Regions from separate parts of the Homo sapiens genome. Here region 1 is linked to region 2. The links are contacts of gene promoters, found by promoter capture Hi-C in human tissues and cell types (Jung and others, 2019). All regions are on one chromosome and are shown on one strand. Each heading gives the region's core, a stretch centred on a gene start or on the middle of the fragment in contact. The rest is flanking DNA. Distances are from core to core; before and after follow the strand shown.

The links. The method cuts DNA at HindIII sites, captures the fragments that hold promoters and counts their contacts. A contact is called where the count stands out against the background at its distance.
Region 1: a contact is called between a fragment that was not itself captured here and the fragment with the promoter of UGT1A9 in region 2, in 3 of the 25 tissues and cell types used here (H1 embryonic stem cells, mesendoderm cells and thymus).

What each region holds. Positions count from the first base shown.
Region 1 is chr2:233,496,502-233,502,590 of GRCh38, reverse strand. USP40 (ubiquitin specific peptidase 40) reads left to right here. Exons shown (of 32, transcript NM_001365479.2): 22 at 2,676-2,712; 23 at 3,979-4,043; 24 at 5,759-5,833. Among named protein-coding and RNA genes, the nearest start is that of USP40, 67 kb to the left of the region's middle. The HindIII fragment of the contact is 5,362 bases long and covers 1-5,301 here.
Region 2 is chr2:233,669,463-233,675,700 of GRCh38, reverse strand. UGT1A9 (UDP glucuronosyltransferase family 1 member A9) reads right to left here and starts at 3,803. Exons shown (of 5, transcript NM_021027.3): 1 at 2,912-3,803. The coding sequence starts at 3,766. All of the region lies in intron 1 of UGT1A8 (UDP glucuronosyltransferase family 1 member A8), which reads right to left. All of the region lies in intron 1 of UGT1A10 (UDP glucuronosyltransferase family 1 member A10), which reads right to left. It also overlaps UGT1A. The HindIII fragment of the contact is 24,288 bases long and covers 1-6,238 here.

The sequences.
Region 1 (6,089 bases), core at 1,371-3,870, 170 kb after region 2:
GGGTGCAAACATGTGTGGGTCAGGCAGCTGTGCAGCGCTCTCTCTGGGGAGGCAGGGCCACTGCCAGATTGCAAAATCCAAAACTTTTTGAGCACTTTTTGACCCTTTGACATGACACTCAAAGAAAATATTCATTGGAGCATTTCATATTTAGATTTTTGGATTGAGGTTACTTAGCTGGTAAGTATAATGCAGATATTCCAAAAATTTTTTTTAAATCCAACACTTCCAGTCCTAAGTATTTCAAATAAGGGATACTCAACCTGTAATTGGGACTGGGTGATGGGTATTTGAGGATCATTTTACTATTTTCTGCAGGTATTTTCCCAGTTTTTTACTGGCCTTTTTAACTTTACATTTTTTAATTTCAAGGAAAGAAACCACAAAACTTTTCAAAAGTGATGTATCTTCCTTTCTGTACTCCGTTGAACCCCTTGCAGGCAGACTTGTTCCTTGCTATGTCACTGAAACAGCTTATGTCAGGGTCATTAGTGGCCTCCACATTACTATGTCCAGTGAGCAGTTTTTACTCTTCATGTTACTTGCTCTATCACCAACATTCGATGTACCTGATGACTCTATTCTTTGAAACACTTTTGTCACTGGGCTCCAGAAGACCACAACTCCAGGTTTTCCTTATATCCCACTGGCCTACCCTTCTCAGTTTGCTGTCTCCTCCTCTTCTCTATCTTTGAGCATTCTGCTGCCCAGTTCTTAGATTGGACCTCGGCCCAGAACATCCAGCTGCCACTTGGTTGTCTAACAATCATCCAAACCTAGAACATATTCACAGTAAAGCTCTTCTTATTCTCCCTGAAACATAACCCGCTCATATTTTTCTCTTTTTCAGTTAATGGCAACTCCATTTTTTACTTGCTTAGGCTGAAAGCCTTGAAGTCATCCTTGATTCTTCTCTTTCTTACTTCACATTCAGTTTCACAAGGACATCTTTTGGTTCTACCATCAAAATGCATCTAGGATCTGACCACATCTCATTCTGTTCATTACTACCACCCTGTCAAACCTGTCATCTTTTTCATCTGAAATGAATTTCATCCATCAGCTTCCTAACTGATCTCCTTCCTTATAGCCTTGCACTTCCCAGGGTCTGTTCTTATAAAAAGTTGAGTGATCCTTTAAAATGTAAGAGAGATTAGTCACTCCTATACTCACAACCCTCCTGTGGTTTCCCATTTTACCCAGAGTAAGAGGTGAAGTCTTGAATGTCTGCACAAGGGCCTATGTGATCTGGTTCTCTGGTATCATTTTTGTTATATTTTCAAACCTCCAACCATTTCCCCCTCTTACTCACTGTGCTTCAGCCACACTGGCCTTCTTGCTGTTTCTGAAATAAGGCTTTTATGCTCTCTATTTCCCCTTCCTAAAACACAATTAAGTTGATTGCTCAATTGTTTGATTGTTTTTCTTAAATACAATGTTTAAGGCTTTAAGTTTTCTTAGAATATAAGCTTGCTTTCATTCATCCACCATATTTTAGTATACTGTGTTTTTATCATCATTTTCTAAACAATCTATAATTATATTTTAAAGCCTTATTTTTTGTCATACAAGTAATCATGGATTTCTTCTCACTTTTTAAACTTCTAGGGGATTAACAATCCCCCTTGGTTACCACTCTATTCTAGTCCTTTCTCTAGAAGTCACTGTTGCAATCAGATAACATCATCTTATCCACATCAGCAGAGTATGTGTCCCTCCAGACCTTTGCTGTGCCTATACCAGCATGTGTCTATATACATACATATAGAAATGAAGAGTGTGCTTTGCTTCTGTGATTTCTTTTAAATTATAAATGGGATCACTTTGCATGTATTATACTAGAACTTTGTTTCACTTAAAATATTTTAAAGATCTTTTAAGACCAATATATATGAATCTGTTTTTTTCTTTGAACTGCTTTAAGACATTTCCTACTTTTTAAAAAATCTCCCATTAATGTGTATTTTGGTGGGGTTTTTTTTGCCATTTTTCTTTTATTACAAACAGTACAGCAGTGACTTCCTTATTTTTGCTCTCTTTTGCTCTAGTGTAATAGAAATCAAATTGTATTTGCTCGCTTGTCCAAGATTTAATTAGCAATGTTTTTCCCTCAAGAAATTGTTTTAATTACTATTTTTGTTTTATTTAAACTTTTGTTAATATTGTCTCATTTTTGCATTATGCCATGACATCACAGCTTGCACAATTCTTGTGAGTTTTTATATTTAGGGAAAACGGGGAAATTCAGACAGTCATAAAGAGAAGAGAGAAGGGAGAACTTTCCCCAAATGCTATCAATCTCGCCTTTTATAGGATTCAGAGTTTAATGTCTATGAAATTAACTTGATTAATCATATCTGGCCAAAGACACACAGTTAATCCTTACAGGAAGAAAGTCATGGTTCAAACCTGGGAGTTGGTGGATGAAACTTTGAACTAAGTCCTGCTTGCAAACACCAGAAACTGCTTTTTCCTCTTCCTGAATTGGCCCCATCTAGCCTTTAGAAAGGAAAGCTGACTCGTGTATTATCTTCTTAACTATGTCTATCCTTGCCTATTCAAGAATCATTAAATATAGTCAGACTTAAATAGGCCTAGGGTCCAAAAAGGGTGTTTGTCCTAGAACTGTAACTCAGAAACAGAAAACTAACATTGGACATTGTTTTTCTTTACAGTGTTTAAAGTTAATGCTGAAGAAATCTGGCCTACAAGGTAAGTTACTTACCATGATGACATATTACTTAAAAGCCTAATAAAAATTTTTTTGACTTTTTTTTTCTCCAGGGTTGTAGGAAAAAAAAATTTATAGGGTGTGGAGAAATAAAAAGTAGTTTACACTTCCATATGTACATAATGAATTCTCCTGGTTCTTGTTGGCATGCTGAAAGAAAACTAATGGTATAGCTCTGAGTAGAGAATTTAGATAGGATCCAGCAAAGGTACAAAGTAGGAATGTTTTACAGTGTTGGTGGGAATGTAAATTAGGTCAACCATTGTGGAAGACAGTGTGGCAACTCCTCAAAGACCTAGAACCAGAAATGCCATTGATCCAGCAATCCCATTACTGGGTATATACCCAAAGGAATATAAAGTATTCTATTATAAAGATACATGCACATGTATGTTCATTGCAGCACTGTTCACAATAGCAAAGACATGGAATCAACCCAAATGCCCATCAGTAATAGACTGGATAAAGAAAATATGGTACATATATACCATGGAATACTGTGCAGCCATAGAAAGGAATGAGATCATGTCCTTTGCAGGGTCATGGATGGAGCTGGAAGTCATTATCCTCAGCAAACTAATGCAGGAACAGAAAACTAGACACCACATGTTCTTACTTATAAGTGGGAGCCAAACAATGAGAACACATGGACACAGGGAGGGGAATAACACACATTGGGGCCTGTTGGTGTATGGGGGGGTGGGAGTGGGGGAGGGAGAGCATCAGGAAAAATTGCTAATACATTCTGGGCTTAATACCTAGGTGATGAGTTGATAGGTGCAGCAAACCACCATGGCACACGTTTACCTGTGTAACAGGCCTGCACATCCTGCACATGTACCCCAGAACTTAAAATAAAAAGAACGCTAAGATGTATACCACCTGGAGCCACGCAGGTCTTCCACTGATTCCTTTCAATTTTATTGATTCCAAATTTCAGTGCATTCTGTTTCATGTCAGTATTTTTGTGGTATAGATGACGGAATGTAAAATGAATGAAAAAAATAAATCTAAGATAACTGAAGCAACTTTCCAGGTGAGATCATGTCAGTGAGCTTGATGAGACCTCATTCTGATTTCAGTAGCACACTTTGCTGTTCTCAGACTTCATTAACATGGAGGCCCATAGCTTTATTATCTGGAAAGGAAGTTAAGGTGCTCTGGGTGCAAGACATTCTTCTAGAAGTTACACGCAACGTCTCACCTAACTTTGAATTTTTTTTATCCCAATTTTGACTCCTTTATAGGAGATGCCTGGCATTTACGAAAAATGGATTGGTGCTATGAAGCTGGAGAGCCTTTATGTGAAGAAGTAAGATGATTTCTATACATTGTACTTTCGTATGATTACATTTATGTCATATTTTCGTACAAGGTACCCATTCCACTCATGAGAAAGCTTTAATTACTTTCTATAGGATACAAATATCTATGAATGGGTCTATTTTACTTTTTTCTTACTATAGTTTTTTGATAAAGGGGAAGTCACAGTGCAGTGGGAACATTTCTGACATCTGTGGTAAACCCCCTTGCCATGAGAGTATGCCTCTAGGAGGAGCAGTTCATGAGAAGGCAGAGAACTTCACAGAACAAATGACATTTGAGCTCATGAAGGAATTTTATAGATACACTCTGAAGTTTTGGCCCCTGAATGTTTTGATCTCAGAGTTTCTCTGTAAGGTAATGGTGGCAGAATTTCTTACTAACCATTCCTAAGTTAGGCTTTGGTCCAAACTCTCGATCCAGCCAAACTGTTAGGGTAGCCTTAGGAATAATTTTATCACAGGAGAGTTGGAATCTAGTTGGTCATCTTGTTGGTCCAAATAGCATGATATTTCCCAGTTCAAATGCGTAGCCTTAGAAGAAGACCCAAAATAAAGCTCTGTGGGGAGTCTGAGGGAGCTGTGGTCAGCCGCCCTTTCCCCAGTCTTCACCTGCCTACTTCCTGTTCTTTAAGAAGGGGCACTGAATGCCAGCAGAAGGTTGATTTAGGGAGGTATGCTGGGGCCTTGCCCTGGAATGCTCTTTGCTGTTTAGCAGTCAGTAAGTCAATAGCAAGAGGCCCCTCTTGGGGCCTGGGCAGGAGTTTGACTGCCTGGAGTAAGAAGTGGACCTCAAAGCATCTTTAGGACATAAAATTTGGATGTCAGAAGAATATATTTACCCAAATAGCTTCAGCATTTTCTTCTCTATTAATTCCCAAATTGGCATCAAAGAATTCAGCCAGAAGCCAACTCATTACCCTTGGAACTGGCTTCTCGTTCCAGCCTTGCCAGGTATCTTTCCCATCCTAATCTTCAAGAGTAAAATATCCTCCTTATCTTTCATTCTTCATGTTTCCTCTCAGCCTCCAAACTGTCAGCTTTTCCACCCCTTCCCTGACCATTCCCATGCTTGGCTCCAGGTCCAAGCCTTCGTATGCCTCTCACCTAAATTATTATGGCTTTCCTGGGCCCAGGCGTTCCCTGCTTCAATGTCATGCATATTGCAGCCAGATTGATCTGGAAAATCTCCTCAGAAATCTTGTGTGGCTCCTTTATTTCTATTCCATGTCCTGTGGTTAGTGCCTGCCCTTCCAGTCCGGTGTGACCTCCTGGTACTTTCCACTCGAATCAGTGTGGCTTTAGCGCTTTACCAAAACAAGCCATATTTACTATCAACCTTAACTTAGCCCTTGTCCTTTTTTTCGTGAGAAATTCCTTCTGTTATTTTCTCTAGCTTTCCAAATCCAACCCATCTTTTTAGGATTAATTAAAATTTCATCTTCTGTAAATCAGTTTCTCATTTCTCATCTCATCTAACTCCCTTGCCTCAGTTCTTCTGTCAGACTTACAGCTTATGCCCCACAATTTAACAAATAATGCTGTACTGATTTTATAGTCTTAGCTTATTTCCTGTGTCTTCCATATCTGCTTTATTATTCATTTAATTTTTGAAAAGATAATAGAGGCATGGGGTTTTAAAAAGATCAATGATCTGCTCCTTTCAGAAGTCATAAGTGACAAAAAAGCATTTTTGTCTTCCCAGGATGCAACACTGAAAGAACTTCTGATATGTTCTGGAGATACTTTGCTTTTAATTGAAGGACAACTTCCTCCTCTGGTAAGATTTTACTTCTGAATAGACAACTCTTAAGTAATAATTGTTATCTGATTACAGAGATGATACAGCCTCATTTAGGGAAAATGGGGAAATTCAGACAGTCATAAAGAGAAGGGAGAACTTTCCCCAAATGCTATCAATCAGATATGTTTCCTAACTTGTAAATATTCTCACACAAAATTAAAATCAATTATATGTAACATTTTTATTTCCTACTTTTTATATTTGACATTTTAACCTTCTCATAAAATCCAAA
Region 2 (6,238 bases), core at 2,554-5,053:
AAGAATGGATAAGTGGGTGCTCATTACACTGAGTCTCTCCATTGTGTATGTTTGAAAACTTTGAAAATAAAAACTTGAAGTAAATAATTTTAGTGGGAGGCCTTAGTCTTGTCCACCAAAAGCTAACTTTGAATTTGGATCTTGGACTATAGCCAGAATCTTACAGCAAGGGGGGAAGCACAGATCTCTTATTTATCTGTAACCATATCCCACCCCCAGAGCCGCACCTGCCATGGATGGTATAGACAAAGCCTGAATTCTTTTCACCTAAAACCAGTCATTAATTCTGTTGGAACTCATCAAAAATTCAAAAAGACTAGGGACCTCCTCTTTTTGCCATTAAAACTATTTCAATGTTCTGCTGAATTATTTACACATCATTAATCAACACACACACATTAGAACGCTGGAATGTAAAAGAATGACCACACGGAATGATATAGTTTAGAAGTTTGTCCCCTCCAAATCTCACGTTGAAATTTGATCCCTGACATTGAAGACGGGGCCATCTGCCATCCTTGTTAAAGTATTTAATTACATCCCTGGATGTAATTCCCCTGGATAGCCTCAAGGAGATTTTGTTACAGGAGACCTTCAAGAAAATCCCCTATGCAGGGTCTGGGACACTGCACACAAACACACCTGCACATACACAAACACATACATGTGCAAACACATACTCCATCATCAAGTAATGCTTCCTTCTCATCAGACAGATAAGACACAGACTCTGAATCCTGTTTCCCAGCAAGATGTAACCAACTGCATGCTTTTCCCAGACACATCCTGGCATCTGAAACAAGGAAGGAGCAATATGAAGTGTCCATCCTTCTGTCAATGACAATTTACTTCTGTGGTTGGGCCATATCCAAGGCTCTTTGCCGGAAAGCCTTCTTTGAGTTCTGAATTCCTCTGTGAGAACTCCGCTGGCTTTACACGTATAGTCATAAATACATACATTAATATATGTAATCTTCCACAAGTATAAAAACTTTCATACATCCATATTCTTTAATAGACACATAAACACATTTATTTCATATCTCATAAAAGATATTTATAATCAAAATAAATGAAACCATATATAGTTTGATGTTTCATATTTTATAGATAACCCTCTATCATAGGTGATATAAAATCATATATAGGTTTTTATATCTCTAAAGGCCTCTGGGTGACGCTGTGAGGCACAATAAATTCAGTGTGGGTTCAGGAAGTGGCAGGGCCTTACCCTCAGCCAAAGGTTGTGGGGTGCAGGCAACACATAAGTGGTGCCTGTTACTACAATTAATGGAGGATACTATAATTTATGGAGGGTAAAGGGGAGAAAAGTGCTTAGACAAGTCTAACCTCTTAGATTTCTGCCATTTGCATCTCCTAGCCTAGTCTTGTGAAGATCCGAAAGTCATGCCTAATTTTGAAAGGCCTACAACTGTAGTCCTCCTGCTTTTTAGAAAGAGCATTATTTCACTTTCCCATGAGTTGGCTGAACAGTCACTCTTTCACCAAACATCTGCCAATATGTGAGAGAATATGACTGTGTTACCAAGTCTACTGAACCTTGTAAGGAGCCAGAACAATAGATAAATTGTATACTCCATCCCTCCAAAATAATATACTGAGATTAGACATTAGGTGTTTAATCTGGATTCAGCCAACTACACATTTGCTAAGAATGTTATTCTGGTATTTGTCATGGACTTTTCAATCACAAGTGATTGAATCCCTATTTAAAATTTAAACTGGCTACTCTCACAATATTACTCAATAGTGCTTTGGAAGTATAAGCTCCAGCAAAGCAAAATAAGTGGTATAAATATCAGAGAAGGGAATTCTTTGCAGTTGACATTGTATATTGTACATCTACTGTATACTACAAAATAATAAGATAAGTTAGTAATGTGGCTGGATACAAGATACATATGCAAAAAACAAAACCTTAATTACCCATAGTCAGTTACATGTAGAAATGGAAAAATTGTCCTGTACCCAATAGTTTCAAAAATAATGAAATGCTGAGGAATAAATGTTAATAAGAAACAGAAAATGCTTATATAGTGAAAAATTTTATTTATGTATATAAAACAAGATCTGAATAAATAGTGAGACATACATATTCCTGAACAGGAAGACACAATAGCAAAAAAATGCCAATCCTTCTCAATTCATGGAAATCCTGTAACCCTACATGTAGGGCTCTAGTCAACTAAGATAAAAGCAAGAATATGGAAATATATTCATGTAAGGAAAGTATTAAAGAGTGTTTACACGGCCCTATTCATAAAGACAAAAAATGCAAAATGCCTAAATCTATATCAATATTAATTGGTTAAAAACTACATTGCATCCAAAGTAAAGTATTTTATGCAATTATTAATAGAACTTGTCAAATCTGTCTGTATTGGTCTATAAAGGTATTTATAATTTATTGGCAAGTGAAAAATGCAAAGAAAAGAAGAATATGTCCAGCCCAATACTAGATTTTATTTTAACAAAATAGGTGTGAGAATTTACATTAGATATTGTATATACCTAAAGTACTTTTTTAAAAACATTAAAAGAATGTTCACAAAACTAAGACCATTTCCTCTGGGGCGGGCATATAGAATTAACAAAAAAGGGAAGTTTCATTTCTTACTGTGGTTTTTGGTACTTTTCTAAACATGGTACTTAAAAATGTAGGCTGAATATGTTCCACAATTTTATAAGTTATAAATACATATCTTCAAGAAGGGCAGTTTTATAAAATTTGCTACTGACGAGTACACGCATTGGCACAAAATAATTTGTTAAACTGGAAAGAAATTTGAAATGAAACAAATGAAAATGTCAAATCACAGTTCAGTAAAGAATCCTTTTTTAATTTCCAAAGGTGAAGTATTCTTAAGGTGCTAAAGGAGAGATAACTTACCATAGGCAACGGCTTTCCCTGATGGCAGTTGATACCACCAATGAAGATCATGTTGGGCATCACGGGTTTGGGATAGTCCAAAACAAAGTCCGTTCGCAACAACCAAATTGATGTGTGGCTGTAGAGATCATACTCCGTAACAGGTGTTTGGAGAATTTCAGAGGCTATTTCTAGGGCATTTTTGAAAAAACGGTGGCATAATAAATGTTCCTCCAAGTGCATGATGTGGTTCCGTACTCTCTCCTTGAAAGTCATGGCATCTGAGAACCCTAAGAGAATTCTGGGGACATAGGAAAGAGGAGCAGGGCACTGTGCACCTTCTTCAAGATAGTGGCAAAGTATTCCCCTGGCGAAGACCACGGAGGGGAGGGAGAAATATTTGGCAACAATTAAGCCACAGTTATCAAAAGGATCGAGAAACACTGCATCAAAAGAACTCTCCTTTAAGTATTCTACTAATTTTTTGTCTTTAAACAAACTCCTGCAATTTGAAAAAAATAAGTCAAAAATGTCATTGTATGAACCCATTAATAGAGAATATATACTTCGTACTTGTGCTTTCCATTGAGCATGGGCAAAAGCCTTGAACTCCCGGTCCAGATCCTCCAGGGTATATGAAGTTGAATAAGTCTTCACTGTGCAATTCAGTGATCTTCCCAGTTGCCAACTCACCTCTGGCATGACTACAACCACCTCATGCCCCCTGAGAATGAGTTTCTCCACCACCGACCTCATGGTGAACCAGTGGCTCCCATCCATGGGCACTACCAGTAGCTTCCCTGCCTCGGCAAAGCCACAGGTCAGCAGCAGACACACACATAGAGGAAGGGGGCTGGTCCACCCTGTGCAAGCCATCAGAGAACTGCAGCTGAGAGCAAGCAGCTGGGAATCTAAGCTCCTATGATACAGTAGGTGGGAGAAATACCAGCACAAAACCTGACCCCAATAGAGGGCGTGTTTTTATCCTTTCATAAAAAAAAAATCAGTCACTGACAATGATTTACCCAAAAGAACAAGAATATATGAGTAGCTTTTGCTGAGATATCTATTTGTATGTTTTCCAGACAACAGTAGCTTATGGTCTTTGCCTTGGGGGCAGAACATGCCCTGTGCTGCAATGTTAAGTTTAGAAGCAGAATTATTAACCAATGCTTTTGGACCTTGAAGGTTCAGAAAGATAAAGTAAAAGTAAATTTGATTAAAGCTAATTTTTTTTGGAATTTGTCCCAGAGCAAAATTTAGATTTTACCTTTAGGCAACCAAATACTCTCTGTCCAGAGAAGATGGCAACTCATGCTCTAAGCAAAGAAAACAAGGCCCTTAGCACTGACCTCCTAACCTCCTAAATTGGGGCTCGCCTGTGTCTCTGCAATGCATACATATTGCTGCTTCTCTTCTTCCATTTCCAAACCCTGAGAAGCCTCTAAAATGCTGAAATGAGACTGACAACCCTGCTTCCATGGACCATACCAGGGACTTGATGGAAAGTAACCGTCTCCTATTTTAAATGGCTTTCCTAAGATACATCGCACGCAGTGGGAAGTTGCCCGCCCAATCCTTGCGAGAGCACTCTGCTGAGCTGCCTCTCAGTGACCGCTCAACTTGCACATTCTAAACACGCCATCACTCCAGTGCCCTCCTTCAGGAAAATATGTACTTGTCTCTCTCAGTCTGCTGAGCACTCCTTGAGGTCAGAGGTGATGTCAACTTTGTGTTTTCACCCTCCTTTCACAGTACCCATGCTATGCCTTTGACATAGTTTGTATGTTTGTATGTTTGGGTTTACAAATAGGACTGCCCCCATCCATAAGCCTGCTAGCCTCCAAGCCTTAAAGGGAAAAGATCAATACCCACTGCCAGTTTTTTTGTTGTACAAGAAGGCCTCGGCAAGAACACTTTTTCTGGATTGGTTCTATCATTACTTTGTCCCTGAAGTCAGGTAATATCTTGCCAGTAAGAGACGGTCTTTCAAAGTTCTTTTGATTTTTGGACAATGCCCCTAGCCACCCAGAACCCATGAGTTCAACACTGAAGGTGTCAAAGTGGTCTACTTGCCTGCAAACCCAACATCTCTAATTCAGCAACAAAAGGTGGGGGATATGGTCTTTCAAGATATGAATCTGTGAGAAATTCAAGAATGAATAGACACCACACCAGAGGAATCAACAGAAGATGACTTGATGGAGATGAGTGCTTTTGAATCAGTACCAGATACTAAAGAAGACATAGAAGAAGCCATGCCAGAAAACAAATTCCTATTAAACAGTTTGGCAAAGGCTTCCAATTATTAAGACTACTTTTGACTTATTTTACAACACAAACCCTTCCATGAATGGGCACTGAAACTAAAGCAAATGGGGAAGAAGGACTAGTACTGTAAAAAAGCATTTTCAAAGAATTGCAAAGGCAAAAAAGTCAAATAATAATTATGATGTAATTCTGTAAAGTTACACCAAGTGTACCTGTCTCTCCTCCTTCTTCCTCCACTTCTTCCCCCTCTGCCACCCCTGAAACAGCAAAACCAACCCACCTCTTCCTCCTTCTCAGCCTACTCAATGGAGGACAATCAAGAGGAAGACCTTTATCATGATCCACTTCCACTTAATGAATACTTAATTTTCTCTTCCTTAAGATTTTCTTAATAACATTTTCTTTTCTCTAGCTGACTTCATTATGATAATACAGTATATAACACATATAACATGCCAAATATGTGTTAAGCAACTGTTTCTGTTATTGGTAAGGCTTCTAGTGCACAGTAGGCTATTAATAGTTAAATTTTTAGGGAGTCAAAAATTCTATGTGTGCTGGGCGTGGTGGCTCACACCTGTAGTCCCAGCACTTTGGGAGGTCAAGGTGGGCGTATCACGGGAGGCCAGGAGTTGGAGACCAGCCTGGCCAACATGGTGAAACCCTATCTCTACTAAAAATGCAAAAAATTAGCTGCAGGTGGTGGTGCATGCCTGTAATCCCAGCTACTCTGGAGGCTGAGGCAGGAGAATCACTTGAACCCGGGAAGCGGAGGTTGCATTGAGCTGAGATCACGCCATTATACTCCAGCCCGGGCAAAACAGCACGACTCTGTCTCAAAAATAAAAAACAAAAAGAAACCCACAAAACCTTTCTATGCTAATTTTTTACTGCTCGGGGGTTGGTACCTCAATCCTCACATTCTTCAAGGGTCAAATGTACTAGCAATGAACAATTGAAAATTGGAATGAAAACAGCACCTAAATAGCATCAAAAATAAAAAATACTAACAGATAAATCTGACAAAAGATGTGAAAGATTGTACACTGAAAACAACAAAACATTGGTGAGAGACCT